Regions from separate parts of the Homo sapiens genome. Here all the other regions are linked to region 4. Evidence: promoter capture Hi-C in 16 types of primary human blood cells and fetal thymus (Javierre and others, 2016). All regions are on one chromosome and are shown on one strand. The core of a region is centred on a gene start or on the middle of the fragment in contact, and the rest is flanking DNA. Distances in the headings are between cores, read along the strand shown.

What was found. Contacts are between HindIII fragments. The CHiCAGO score rates a contact against its expected background, and 5 or more counts as called.
Region 1: a fragment that was not itself captured here is called in contact with the fragment with the promoter of TUBE1 in region 4 in 2 of 17 cell types (non-activated CD4 T cells and total CD8 T cells); the score reaches 5.5 in non-activated CD4 T cells.
Region 2: a contact is called between a fragment that was not itself captured here and the fragment with the promoter of TUBE1 in region 4, in 1 of 17 cell types (fetal thymus). The highest score is 5.2, in fetal thymus.
Region 3: a contact is called between a fragment that was not itself captured here and the fragment with the promoter of TUBE1 in region 4, in 1 of 17 cell types (total CD8 T cells). The highest score is 5.6, in total CD8 T cells.
Region 5: a fragment that was not itself captured here is called in contact with the fragment with the promoter of TUBE1 in region 4 in 1 of 17 cell types (total CD8 T cells); the score reaches 5.6 in total CD8 T cells.

The regions. Positions count from the first base shown.
Region 1 is chr6:111,460,877-111,463,576 of GRCh38, forward strand. The region is part of intron 1 of REV3L (REV3 like, DNA directed polymerase zeta catalytic subunit); the gene reads right to left. Among named protein-coding and RNA genes, the nearest start is that of REV3L, 21 kb to the right of the region's middle. The HindIII fragment of the contact is 1,940 bases long and covers 473-2,412 here.
Region 2 is chr6:111,215,718-111,218,417 of GRCh38, forward strand. All of the region lies in intron 4 of SLC16A10 (solute carrier family 16 member 10), which reads left to right. Among named protein-coding and RNA genes, the nearest start is that of SLC60A2-DT, 42 kb to the right of the region's middle. The HindIII fragment of the contact is 7,253 bases long and covers 1-2,700 here.
Region 3 is chr6:111,559,630-111,562,329 of GRCh38, forward strand. The region is part of intron 8 of TRAF3IP2 (TRAF3 interacting protein 2); the gene reads right to left. It also overlaps TRAF3IP2-AS1. Among named protein-coding and RNA genes, the nearest start is that of TRAF3IP2, 45 kb to the right of the region's middle. RefSeq lists an enhancer at 1-234. The HindIII fragment of the contact is 4,561 bases long and covers 1-2,700 here.
Region 4 is chr6:112,086,121-112,088,820 of GRCh38, forward strand. It overlaps TUBE1 (tubulin epsilon 1), which reads right to left and starts at 1,362. Exons shown (of 12, transcript NM_016262.5): 1 at 1,290-1,362; 2 at 1,113-1,186; 3 at 436-488. The coding sequence starts at 1,314. FAM229B (family with sequence similarity 229 member B) reads left to right here and starts at 1,471. Exons shown (of 4, transcript NM_001033564.3): 1 at 1,471-1,600. RefSeq lists enhancers at 892-941, 1,076-1,607, 1,342-1,531. The HindIII fragment of the contact is 2,028 bases long and covers 1-1,991 here.
Region 5 is chr6:111,360,791-111,363,490 of GRCh38, forward strand. All of the region lies in intron 16 of REV3L (REV3 like, DNA directed polymerase zeta catalytic subunit), which reads right to left. Among named protein-coding and RNA genes, the nearest start is that of SLC60A2, 100 kb to the left of the region's middle. The HindIII fragment of the contact is 3,484 bases long and covers 1-2,700 here.

The DNA of each region.
Region 1 (2,700 bases), core at 193-2,692, 630 kb before region 4:
ATCGCCTAGGGACATCCTAGTTGTATTAACATTGTAGTACGATGAGTTACTCACGTGTTTGTGGTGAAGCTGGTGTAAAGAAACCTACACTGCCAGTTGTATAAAAGTATAGCATATACAATTATGTTAAGTACATAATACTTGATCATGGTAACAGTTACTAGCTTATGTATTTATTATATACTTTATCATTATTTTAGAATGTACTCCTACTTACATAAAAAGGAAAGTTAACTGTAAAACAGCCTCAGGTAAGTCCTTCAGGAGATATTACAGAAGAAGGAACTGTTATCATAGGAGATGGCAGTTCCATGTGTGTAATTGTCCCTGAAGACCTTCCAGACAAGATGTGGAAGTGGAAGACAGTGATATTTATAGCTTGACTCTCTGTGGGCCTAGGGCTAATGTATTTGCGTCTTAGTTTTTAACAAAAGTTTTAAAAGTAAAAATTAAAAATTTTTAAATAGAAAAAAGCTTACAGAATGAGGACATACTTTTGTACAGCTGTACAATGTATTTGTTTTAAGCTAAGTTATTGTAAGAGAGTAAAAAAGTTTAAAAAACTAAGAAGTTAATAAAGTAAAAGTTACAGTAAGGTAAGGCTAATTATTGAAGACTTTTTAAAAATAAATTTATTATAACCTACATGAACAGTTCTATAAAATCTATAGCAATATACTGTAAAGTCTTAGAGTAGTAATATATTGCATGTTGATTGCATATATATAAAAGTAAAGTGTATGACAACAAAAACATAAAAGATGAAGAGGAGAAATGGGAGTATAGAACTATAAGGTCCTAATACTACATATAAAGCTATGTATTATTATATCAAGAAAACTGTGATTAATTACAAATATACGGCAAACCCTAGGGCAACCACTAAACAAATTTCAGAAAGAGGTATAAATAAATAAGCAAACCGCGGAGAGAAATGGAATTTTTAAAAAGTCCAAGTAATCCAAAAGAAAAAAAGAACAGATAGACTAACATAAACCAGATACCATAGTGGTAGATTTTAATCCAACCATATTACCAATGTTGATAAATATAAACAATCTAAACACACTAAATAAAAGAGACATGTCAAAATGAAAGACAGAGATTATCAGACTGGATAAACAAGTAAGCCCATCTATATGCTGACTATAAGAAACCCATATTAAGTGTAAAGATACAGATAGGTTGAAAGTGAAAGTAAAACAAAAAACAAAAACAGAAAAAATATGTTGGGAGACAATTCTCCATGGGTCTCTGTTGAGGTAGCTGCCTTTGAACCTACTTCTCAGTATCTGGTCTGCAACCATCTCCCCAGTTACTCTTTATTAATAAGTGATACAATGGAGAGATGGAAATCTCATGTCTATTGCTAATATGTATGAAATTCATGGCAAACTTCAGTTTTTGACATGATATACCATGTAAATACTAATCAAAAGGAAGCTGAAGTGGTTATATTAATACAAGGCAAAGAAGATTTCAGAACAAGGAATATTACCAGAGATAAAGAGGCTGTCCGCCAGAAAGGCACACCGATCTTAAATATGTATGGATCTAACAAACTTTCAAAATACATGAAAAAAAAACTGATAGAACTGGAAAGAGAAATAGACAAATCTATTAAGTTGGAGACTTCAACACATCTCTCAGTATTTTATAGAACGAGTAGGCTATAAACATATGGAAAAACTCAATCTCTCACTAGTGATGAAAAATGTACAAACCCACAATGAGATGTTTTAAATTAATTCCTAATTTAAAACTTAAGTCTGACAATCCTAAATATTGGTGAAGATGTGGAACATCAGAAACTCACACTTCTGGTGGGAGTATAGATTGGTATGATCACTTTGGAAAACAATTTGGCATTACTTAGTAGAGATGTGCTCATATTTATAATTTAAAATTCTTATGACGAATAAATAGTAAATATAGATTCACTCAGCAAATATTAAAAACAAAATAAAGCCACAGAATGTAAGTACAACACCCCGTTAGGCCTAACTAGACACCGAGACTCACATAACCCAAACAGGCTGGTTATACTTAACATGTCAGGCAGGAGTCCTCATTGCAATTCGGGGGCTAGTATCTTTGGCCCTCTCAGGTGGCAGATCAAGTGTAAGAGAATGAGAGCATAAGGTCCTTGCAGTAGCTACTCTAGCTTACAGGTACCAAATAGCAACCAATATCTCCAGTCTCATAGGCATAGCTTCCTGAGCTTCAGCAACAGATTTGCTTAGTTGCAAGAGTTATCACACTCAGGGAAGTCCAAAGCTGTTAACGGTATAAGTACCAGTATTTACAATTCATTCACAGTCCTCCTCTGGTCCTTATGCAATTCAGTAATCATGAGTCATTATTACCATAAGCAATGGTGCTCGGTTATACAACTGATATTCTACCTTATCAAGCTTCCAAGTGAACAAAGCTAGGAAGTTAAGCCAAGGCCAAAACTGTCCGAAGAGAAGAAAGGTTAATGTTACAACAAATAAAGAGATTCAATTTAGAATGGCACTAAGCTAAACAACTATTAATATATTTCACTGAATCCAAGATGCTAGTGATTATGACATAATTAATTTTTGTACTAAGAAAAGTGCTGTTAAGTAAATATGGTGCACTACTGATTGTAAGACATATCCTAATTACTGAGATGCACAAGGAGGGAAAATATACTTCTTAGAATTGATGAAATAC
Region 2 (2,700 bases), core at 104-2,603, 870 kb before region 4:
ATTAGAGTTGGACGCAGTGGCTCACGCCTATAATCCCAGCACTTTGGGAGGCCAAAGCAAGTAGTTTGTTTGAGCCCGGGAGTTCAAGAATGGCCTGGGCAACATAGTAAGACCCCATCTCTACAAAAAATAAAAAATTAGCCGGGCATAGTGGCATGTCCCAGCTACTTGGGAGACTAAAGTGGGAGGATCACTTTGAGCCCAGGAGGTTGAGGCTGCAGTGAGCTATGATCGCACCACTGCATTCCAGCCTGGGCAACAAAGTGAGACCTGTTTCAAAAATAAAAAATTGGGGTTTATCTACTTAGATTTTCAATAAAAATTACTACTTAAATCTTTACCTGCTTGTTAATTTCAAACCCTTTTCTACATTTTGATTTATCTTTAAATCTCTTTTTGTCTCAATAAATGGGAAGTATCAGGAAGTCTTTTTACTTGCTCAAGGTCATAGAGAGCTTAGAACCTGGTAGTGTCCCTCTGAGCCCCAGTTCTTTCCAACCTGCCAGGCTGTAGGCCCAACAATTACTCACCACTAAGAAATTATGCTTGTGCTGTCATGGAAGTTGCATTGGAGAAAAGGATATTTAACTGGCAAACAAAAGTCAGGAGAATGGGGAGATTTTGTTCTTTTGAAATGCTAGTGTGAAGTGCTAGGCTTATTTTTCAAATGCCCAACTCGTATTCTTTTCTTTTCTTTTTTTTTTGAGAGGGAGTCTCACACTGTCGCCCAGGCTGGAGTGCAGTGGGGCGATCTCGGCTCACTGCAAGCTCCGCCTGCTGGGTTGACGCCATTCTCCTGCCTCAGCCTCCGAGTAACTGGGACTACAGGCGCCCACCACCACGCCCGGCTAACTTTTTTTTTTTTTTTTTTGTATTTTTAGTAGAGACGGGGTTTCACCGTGTTAGCCAGGATGATCTTGATCTCCTGACCTCGTGATCCGCCCTCCTCAGCCTCCCAAACTGCTGGGATTACAGGCGTGAGCCACCGCGCCCAGCCGGCCAACTCGTATTCCTAAACGAATCATAATTTTACCATAAGACCATAGTTTAGTGATTGAAGAAAAAATGTACCGAACTGTATGATATGATGGTGTCAAAAAGAACTAACCCAATATGAAACAGTTTTCAGGAGCATGTTTCCTATTTTGGTGTCAGTGGACCACTTGTGTTAAAGTTGTGAAAACCAACACTCCTGAATTCCACCCAGAACTCACACTCTGCACCTTCAGAGGCCCTCAGATTGTGAGTGGCTGCCCCGAGGTGTACTACCAACCTCCAGCTTCCGTAGGTCCGTAGGTGTGCTAGTAGGGCCTAGGAAAAACAGAACAGATGAGGACAGTGATGCATACAGCTGCTTTATCTGGTCTCTCCTTCCTCCCTAGCCTGACTGCTATTGGAGGGCACCCTCCAGGCACAGTTCTGTTCACAGCCTGCTGCTGCCCCCGTGGGCCATGGTTCCAGGACGGCTCCATCTTCTGTGCTTTGGGCACATTAACCTCTCCCAGCGTCACTATCTTCATCAGCAAAATGGAGATAACATTAGTACCACCTCATAAAGTTGTTATGAGGATCACCAGTGAGATAATCAATCTAAAGTGCTTACAACAATGCTTGGCACTTGGTAAACACTAAATAAATGATAGTTGCTATTATATGCATACTTTTAAAAAACTTGATGCTTTTAAAAATTTTTTCTGCTGACTAGTGAATTGTTCAGTTTTTGTTGTTGTTGTTGTTGTTGTTGTTGTTTGAGACGGAGTCTCGCTCTGTCGCCCAGGCTGGAGTGCAGTGGCATGATCTCGGCTCACTGCAAGCTCCACCCCCCGGATTCACGCCATTCTCCTGCCTTAGCCTCCCGAGTAGCTGGGATTACAGGCGCCGGCCACCACGCCCGGCTAATTTTTTTGTATTTTTAGTAAAGACGGGGTTTCACCTTGTTAGCCAGGATGGTCTCGATCTCCCGACCTCATGATCTGCCCACCTCGGCCTCCCAAAGTGCTGGGGTTACAGGCATGAGCCACCGTGCCCGGCCATGAATGGTTCAGTTTTAACAGGTTCTGTGCCTTAAAAAAGTTATTAAATTGACTGTTTCCTCCTTTTTTGTACCCATCATACTTTGAATATATAACTACGGCAGCATATAAACACTTCACTTGCACTTATTTATTTAAATGTCCATCTTTCCATAACCCAAGGGTAGGAACGAAATCTTATTCATTGTTGAAACCTCTAGCACATAGCACAGTGCCTACCAAATAGTAGGCAAAATCAGGTGTTCAATTCTATTAACTACTCTAACACTGAACTGAAAGTGTTCAATGGCTCAAAATAATATAATAAGCCTTAACTCTGGGGTGCTTAAATTTATCTATAATCTCTGCCAGTGAAGTATACATAGTTTTAAAGGTTAAAAAAAAATCAAGTGTTTAATGAATTTGAGCTGATTGAGCACTGACCAGATACAGGATCCTTAAACTTCATAATATCTAGTCCAAAGATGAATTTTTTTTTTGGTACAGATTCTGACTTCAAGGGATTTGCAGGCTGGGAGGGAAATTAAATATATAAAAAGTCATTTTCGGCCAGGCGCTGTGGCTCATGCCTGTAATCCCAGCACTTTGGGAGGCCGGGCAGGTGGATCACTTGAGGTCAGGAGTTCAAGACCAGCCTGCCCAACATGGGGAAGCCCCATCTCTACTA
Region 3 (2,700 bases), core at 160-2,659, 530 kb before region 4:
ATTTCTGGCTTTCCCTACATGGGCGTTTCCTACCAAACTATCCTGGGAGTTGTGCTGTTTTGCTTTTGGAAAGGTTTAGCATGTGAAATGTTCTTGGCTTCGGGTACAAGCTGTATATCTCATTATAAAAACCACATGTGCACAGCATTTTCTGTCAGTCTCCCAGACTACCTACCCTTTGCATTTCAACTTGCTTTTCACCACCCTCACATAAAAGGGGTAGGACAGAGGTCACACAGAGTGATGTGAATTCCCCTGTGACTTCAGAAGAAGTATGCCAGGGCCGTAGGCTTAAATCAATTCATTACTCTTTCACTCCAGCCCCAGGTCTGGCCTGCAGTAGAAGGAGCCCATCAGACCTCAGTGATCAGGCAGAGGCAGAAACTGTTAGCCAGGGATCCTGGGGGTGCAGTGTCAGACTGCCCTCATGGAGTGGATGTTCTGGTGGGGAGAGGCAGATAATAAGTAAATGGATAGTGTGTTCAACAGTGATGTATGCTGTGGAGAAGAATTAAACAAGAAAGGGGACAGGGAGTGCTGGGGCAAGGGTGAAAGATTTGCAGTTTTAAACGGGGTGCTTAGGAGAGGTCTCACTGAGAAAATGAGCAAAGACCTAAAAGAGTGGAAGAAGCAAGCTCTGTGGTTGTCTGGGTCCAGGCAGATAGGAGAGTCAGTGCGAAGGCCCTGTGGAGGGAGTGTGTTGGGTCTGTTCACAAGCAACAAGGCCACTGTGAGTAGAGCAGAGTGAGTAGGTGCAGAGGTCTGGAAGTAGAAGGGGCTGTATCGGATAGTGCCCTGTAGGCCACCATAAGGCCTTTGCTTTTGAGTCTAACTCCTAGGGACTATAGGACGGGACTTCTCTAGGTATTGTGCTTAGAAGCAGCACCTGCTGCATGGCAGGCATCATACTGAGTACTGAGGATGCCCAAATGAAAAGGACGCAGGGACTGCCTTGAGGACTTCAAATCTTAGGATGAAAGCAAAATGTCAACAAATGATTTTCTAGTCAATGGTGTACCAAGGGGACAGGTGGTGAGAGCGGCCTGTGCTGGGCTCAGGTAATACGGGCATTGTCTGAAGGAGATTTAAAAATAATAACAAAACCAATGAAAATTTGGTCTATTTTGTATATCGCCATGCTCCAATAATTCTCAACAATTATTCCCAGTACCCTCAACCCAAACACATACCATTGACCCAAGGTGCTAGAATTAAGCACCCTTAAGAAAGGGACAATGAAATATATCAGCATGAAGGTAAAGAGGTGTCAGGGCAGGGCGCAGTGGCTCACGCCTGTAATCCCAGCACTGGGGAGGCTGAGGAGAGTGGATTACCTGAGGTCAGGAGTTCAAGACCAGCCTGGCCAACATGGTGAAACCCTGTCTCTACTAAACATACAAAAATTAGCTGGGCGTGGTGGCGAGCACCTATAACCCCAGCTACTTGGGAGGCTGAGGCAGGAGAATTGCTTGAACCTGGGAGGTGGAGGTTGCAGTGAGCTGAGATTGCACCACTGCACTCCAGCCTGGGCAACAGAGCAAGACCCTGTCTCAAAAAAAAAAAACACTTTGGGAGGCCCAGGCAGGTGGATCACGAGGTCAAGAGAACAAGACCATCCTGGCCAACATGGTGAAACCCCATCTCCACTAAAAATACAAAAATTAGCTGGGCATAGTAGCACATGCCTGTAGTCCCAGATAGTCGGGAGGCTGAGGCAGGAGAATCGCTTGAACCCTGGAGGCAGAGGTTGCAGTGAGCCGAGATCACACCACTACACTCCAGCCTGATGACAGAGCAAGACTCCGTCTCAAAACAAACAACCAAAAGAGGTGTCGGGGAGGCTAGAGAGATTGGGTGATATAAGGGTAAGTAAGAGTTCACTAGGCAGGCAAGTTAGGGAAGGGCATTGCAAGCAGACGGAACAGAAAAGGCAAAGGCACAGAGACAAAAGAACACAGCATGTGTGAGGGCATGCTGAAATGGTCCAGGGTGACCAGAGCACACAGCATCTACAGAGGGTGATGAGAGAAAACTACGCAAGGGGACACAGTCCTCTTCTGAGAGGCCTCATAGATCGTGCTAAGAAAGGTGGATATGATCTTGTAGTCAATGGGAAAACGGCACAAAATTTGTAAGCTACCAAGAAACAGATCAGACCTACATTTTGGATGTTCCTCTTTGATGGCAGAGGAGAGGATGGCTAGCACAAGGTCAAAGTGGAGATGAGACCAGTAAGGAGACTCATCAGTAAGTGACAGCAGTGAGACCCTGGGCAAAGGCAGCGCAGGGAGGATAGAAAGGTGTGCCATCGCACAGGCTGTGCACCATACAGCCTGAGGTGTCCCGTTCCCATAAACTGGAGCCTCCCTCATCCAGGGCAGGGGTCTCAGTGCAGTCTTGACATCTGAGGATCCCTCCAGGGTGAAACAGGGCCTGAGTTTAGGGTGCTGTGGTCTGATTCTCAACATGTTTACTCCACCACTGCCTTCCCTTTGCCAAGCATGGAATGTGGCCTCAGGTGGTTTTGCCCCCATTCTCCAAACTTGCTGGCAGACCCTTCTGGTGTGAAAAGCCTCATATGAATCACGGCAAAGTTCACTCAGGTAACTATAGATTTAATTCCTGTAATCATTAGCTTTGAGAGCTGAACTATGTGCAATGAAATGCCTCCCTGGAACAGCCAGCAAAAACCATACACAT
Region 4 (2,700 bases), core at 112-2,611:
TCTTCCAGATAAAACATATATGGTACTTACATATACTCTTTATTAAATAAACAAAAACAATCCAACAACTGCTTGTCACCTTTTTAAGTATATTTTTATACTTACAGCATATATGTAAACAATATATTTTTCTTTCAAAAGTTAGTTATTACAGGATGCATTAACAAGATGCCCTCTGGGAAAATTTCAGCTTTCTTTTAATGAAACTTATTTCAAGGTTAAGTTAAAAGAAGTCACACTAAAGGGAAATCTGTTGTCTTCTTCGGGAAAATGATATAAGAATATTAATAATCTAATAGAATAAATATGCTTTCAATAATGAAACAAAAAAACACAACTTCGCAGCTGGCTATTTTTATTGTCCTTTGAAGAATTCTCTCCCAAGCTACTGAAACTTAAAGTATCACACTGTGACAGACTTTAATCCCATCTTACCTGGTGTCCACATTTCTAAAGAAGCTGCTTATTGCCTCATCATAAATTCCTTTCTAAAAAGAAAAACATATGTTAATAGCATTTAGGTTTTGCTTCTCGCCCAAATCAAGTTCTTTCAATTTTAATTACATAATACTGTAATGGCTAGGATGAGACTCTGATAAGAAAAACCAAGTATCACAAAATGCGGAGCCTGACTCTTCCCAATCTCCTTAGAAGAGTAAATGCCAGATCTACAGATAAAAAGTTCAGCAGGGGGTGCTAAAGAAAGGATTTCACCCATAGGACTGTAGGACAGGTCCATCAAATGAGCGTTCTCTGGATTCTTCGTAATCTTTTTAAAAGCTGACTGGTTAAATTAAGGAATACAATAACCACACGTGTTATCTATTTTACAAAGTACTTTCCCATATACAAATCTCACTGTTCTGCACACGAACACCAATAAAGAGGAGACCCTGAGAATCAGGAAAAACGTTAAGACTAAGGTCGCTGGCCAGTGTTCTTTTAGTTTAGTGTGTGTCTGACGCAACATGTTTAAAAACCAGTACGTTCTTTACTGGGAAGATCCCATGCATCTTAAACGGGTCAGATGAAAGCTCAAGTCGATTATTTCCTGCGTATGGGCTGGAAGACCTAGCTGACAGGCGAGGGGGCTCGCGGCGGCGGGCGGGTACCTGGTTGACCGCGGCGTGCTCCCTTAGTGCCAGGTCCCAGAAGCAGCAGCCGATCTGGTTTCCGCACTGGCCGACTGCGACCGGAGGAGAGGAAGGAAAGAGAATAGGACATTAAGCAGGAAACATGGCCGCTGGATTCCGCGGCGACCAGGTCTCTACCCGCCCGGCGTAGCTTACCCTGTACGACCACCGACTGGGTCATGGTGGTGCGCCGCCGGCTCCGGGAGCTTGCTAGCCCGCGGCCGCTTCTGCATTCCCCCAGCAACGGCGCTCTGCTAGAGAGCTGCCGTAAGTCACGCTACTGCCGCAAGCCTCTGCCGTCGCTAAGCACGTCTGTAGGTTCAGGCTAAGGTTTTCCGTCAGAAGGCCGCGCAAGTGCACTTGCGTGTCACCGTTACCGTAGCGACTGGGCTTCTGGACTGTATATCCTAGCTGCCTTGTCAACATCTTCGAGCATCGGCAGCTCCGGAGGCCGGGGTAACTGGCAGGTAACTAGGCTTTGGAGTGGTATTTTAAAATATGTGTCGTTAAGCTGTTCGTGGGCTATCAGAGGTTTAATTTTTGTTCACAGCCTCAACACCCGGGGCGGTGGATCAGTCCGTTTATTCAGATTCCACGGGACGCTGCGTTGGCATCTCTGTTCAACAAGCCCTTTATTCTAATAGAAAATGAACAATGGCGTTGAGCAAAGAGAAACCCCAGAGAAATAGTCATGTCAGGGCACAATTGAAACTAGATGGTTATACGCTTTGACAAAAATGGCAAAGCTAAGGTCACAGACCCAACCAGTATTTGTTGAACGCTGTATACTCCCCAAATTAACTTGTAGGCTCGCTGGGAAGATTAGAAAGAAATTAAGGCATAGATCCAGTTCCAAGAAGCTTACAATCTAATTGAAGACATACACGCGAAATACTTAAAGAATTGTGTGGCGTTGACTATAAGTGCAATAGGATTCAGTGGTTGAGGATGTAGATGAGTATGTAGAAGTCTGATAGAAGACACGAGATTAACACTAGGCATTTAGATGGGTATTTAGATGGGATAGGCAGGAGAAGATTAAAAAGTTAGGCATTATGACAATTACCAACTACTTAAAATTGTCAAACATTAAAATATGTAAACTTCTATTGATCAAATTAGACCAGATTTTAATTAAGAACTCAAGTACTTCTTTAATGAAATTAATATTTTCCACAAAAATTCTGAAGAACTACGAAACTCTAAGAAGTCTTCTTTGTTTAATAAAAAGTTATATGGTATGTGCTATGAATATGTGCTAATATGAACTGTAATATTCAATGGATTAGAACACTTTATTGTCCCACCAAGACACGTAGTAGTTACTATTAAATTTCTCTGGTAGCCGGTAGGTTTAAAGTTGCAATGGATTTTATATCTTTTGGTAATAGGCAGCTTTCGGTCAGTAAATTTTTGTAGGCTGGATTTATTCTTAACTTCTTACTGAGTATGGGGTCAGTGGTAGAGGTAAAGTTGGGCATTTTAGGTCTTGATGCTAAAGTCCCAACGTCTGGGGCTTCCAAAATTTGCAAGTCTTGGTCCAGTTTGTAGGCAGTGATGTGAATAG
Region 5 (2,700 bases), core at 80-2,579, 730 kb before region 4:
AAAATATAAAGAACATCAATTATGCATGTATAAGGCATAATAATAAAACAAATACAAATCTACCACTTTCCTCAGAAACATATACTGCTGTTTCTACTTTAAAATATTAGTATTAAAAAAAAAATCAAACCACATGAAATGGAGAGCTAAGGGAAAAAACTTTTACTTTTAAATGCATACTCTTCAGAACTTAATTTTAACAATAAGCATGCATTAATTTAGTAAATAAAAAATTTTTAAATGGAAAACTCCTCCCACAAACCCAAATAAAACAAAACAACCAGTTTCATTAGAAAGGGATGAACATATGAGGCCGGGCACGGTGGCTTATGCCTGTAATCCCAGCACTTTGGGAGGCTGAGGCAGGTGGATCACCTGAGGTCAGGAGTTTGAGACCAGTCTGGCAAATGTAGCGAAACCCCGTCTCTACTAAAAATACAAAAATTAGCCGGGTGTGGTGACGCATGCCTGTAATCCCAGCTACTAGGGAGGCTGAGGCAGGAGAACTGCTTGAACCTGGGAGGTGGAGGTTGCAGTGAGCTGAGATTGTGCCATTGCATTCCAGCCTGGGTGACAGAGTGAGACTATGTCTCAAACAAAACAAAAAAAAACAAAAAACACACACACACAAAAAAAAAAACAAAAAAAAAAAAGAAAGGGATGAACATATGAAAAGACATGAAGACTCTGAAAACAATTTTAGGTTAAAAGGGTCTTAGAGGTTGATTTTTGTTTACTAGATCAAATTTTCACACTCAAAATTTGCATTTCTATTCCTTAATAACAAAATGCATTACTGTGCTTAGGGGGTATTTTTTTAAAGCAAACTATATAAAGACATGGCTTGAGAGATTTAGTGAGTGTGACTAGGCAAGAGGCAGGTGAGAAGGGGGACAAAGATTACAACCCTTGTCTTCTGCACTGAGTACTGATGTGCAGAAGAAAGAGAGATTATCCTAGGGTAATGGAAACAGAGGGAGAAAATGCCACAAGCATAATTTCCTAGAGAAAGGAAGAGAACAGTATTTTTTCTTTGGTTTATTCCCTGTTTCAACCACCGGGCGGCAGTTTGGAATGTGCCTTGAGATGAGGAAAGCCGGTTATCGGGAGGAAGAAGCTGTCAGAGCAACCAGTGAGACCTCCAGAGTGATTTTAACTTCCAGAGGGCCCATGGTTCTGAAACAGGGTTACCTAGGAAAATGTAGAAAAGCGTACTTTTCAAATAAGAGAATAATCAAATGTAACATGTCTTTTTGCTATGGTCTATCAAATTTGCTTTAATACATATTTTTAAAAAAGTTTTTAAAAATTTGCTAATTTCAAGTTTGCATTTGATGGTATGTATTACTGAATTTATCACTTAATTTATCTAGGCTTCAGGGGCTAGTATAGACCTAGGTATAAAACAGAAACTGAATGAATGCTGCTGAATGAGAAAAATGTGCAAATGAATAAATGAGGGAGAGACTATGTTCCAATCTAATTCTAAAAAAACATAATTCTCAGTTCAAATGTGAAGAACAAAGGAGGACAATATTAAAATTTTTCCCTCAGTTTATGTTAATCTAATCTCTAGAACAGTTTACAACAGAATTGACTTGAGAAAAAAAACCACACTTAAAAATTGAATTATAACTTAAAGGTGGTTACTAATCCTCTGCTTTAAAAGCAAAGACATAAAGTGACTGTATAAAACTAGCATTGTCCAATAGAAATATAATGAAAGTCACATGTAACTTAAAGTTTTCTAGTAGTCACATTTAAAAAAATAAAAATAGGTTAATTTAAAAACACTTTGATCTGATCCAATATATTTAAAATATTATCCTTTCAACATGTAATCAATATTAAAATTACTAACAAAATATTTTAAATTATTCTTTCCATGAAGTCTTTGAAATGAGTATGTACTTTATCCTTCTAGTATATCTCACTGTGCACGCTAAATTTTCTACAGAAATACTTGATCTGTAATTTCATACAACTTAAGAGTAAAAAATAGTATTACATACCTAAGTCGTTCCAAACATACTTTGAGTCAACTATGTTTTAAAATCTAAATTAAAATTAAATAAAGTTTAAAATTCAGTTCTTCAGTTGTATAAGCCAAATTTTAAGTTCTCAATATCCATGCTGCTAGCGGCTACCATACGACAGCACAGGTGTAAACAATGAAAACATACTCCAATTTCTATCTTACTGCCAGTCAGATATGTGCTTTGAGTTTGTTTTCTGCATACAAATAAATTTACAGTGACCCATTCACATATTCTTTCCAATGCATACTGTAGCTGATGTATATTTTTGCAAAGTCCTAGTCTTTGGCAGGCAGCCTGTGCTGTGAAGATAGCTGGATTAAGTAGAGAGTATATGAGTGAATGAATTTATCCTCTTTTGTAGCAAGCTCTAATCCACTCAGCCAATCAAACAGAAAATACAAGTAAATATCACATTTCAGATGTGACATAACATCTTAATATAATAATCCCCAAAATACAGACTTACTTCTTTTTTTTGTTTTTCCCCAAAGAGACAGAGTCTTGCTCTGTCTGTAGCCCAGGCTGGAGTGTAGTGGCGCAATCACAGCTCACTGCACCCTCGAACTCCCAGGATCAAGTGATCCTCCCACCTCAGCCTCCCAAGTAGCTGAGACTATAGGTGCGCGCCACCATGCTCATCTAATTTTATTTTTATTTTTTG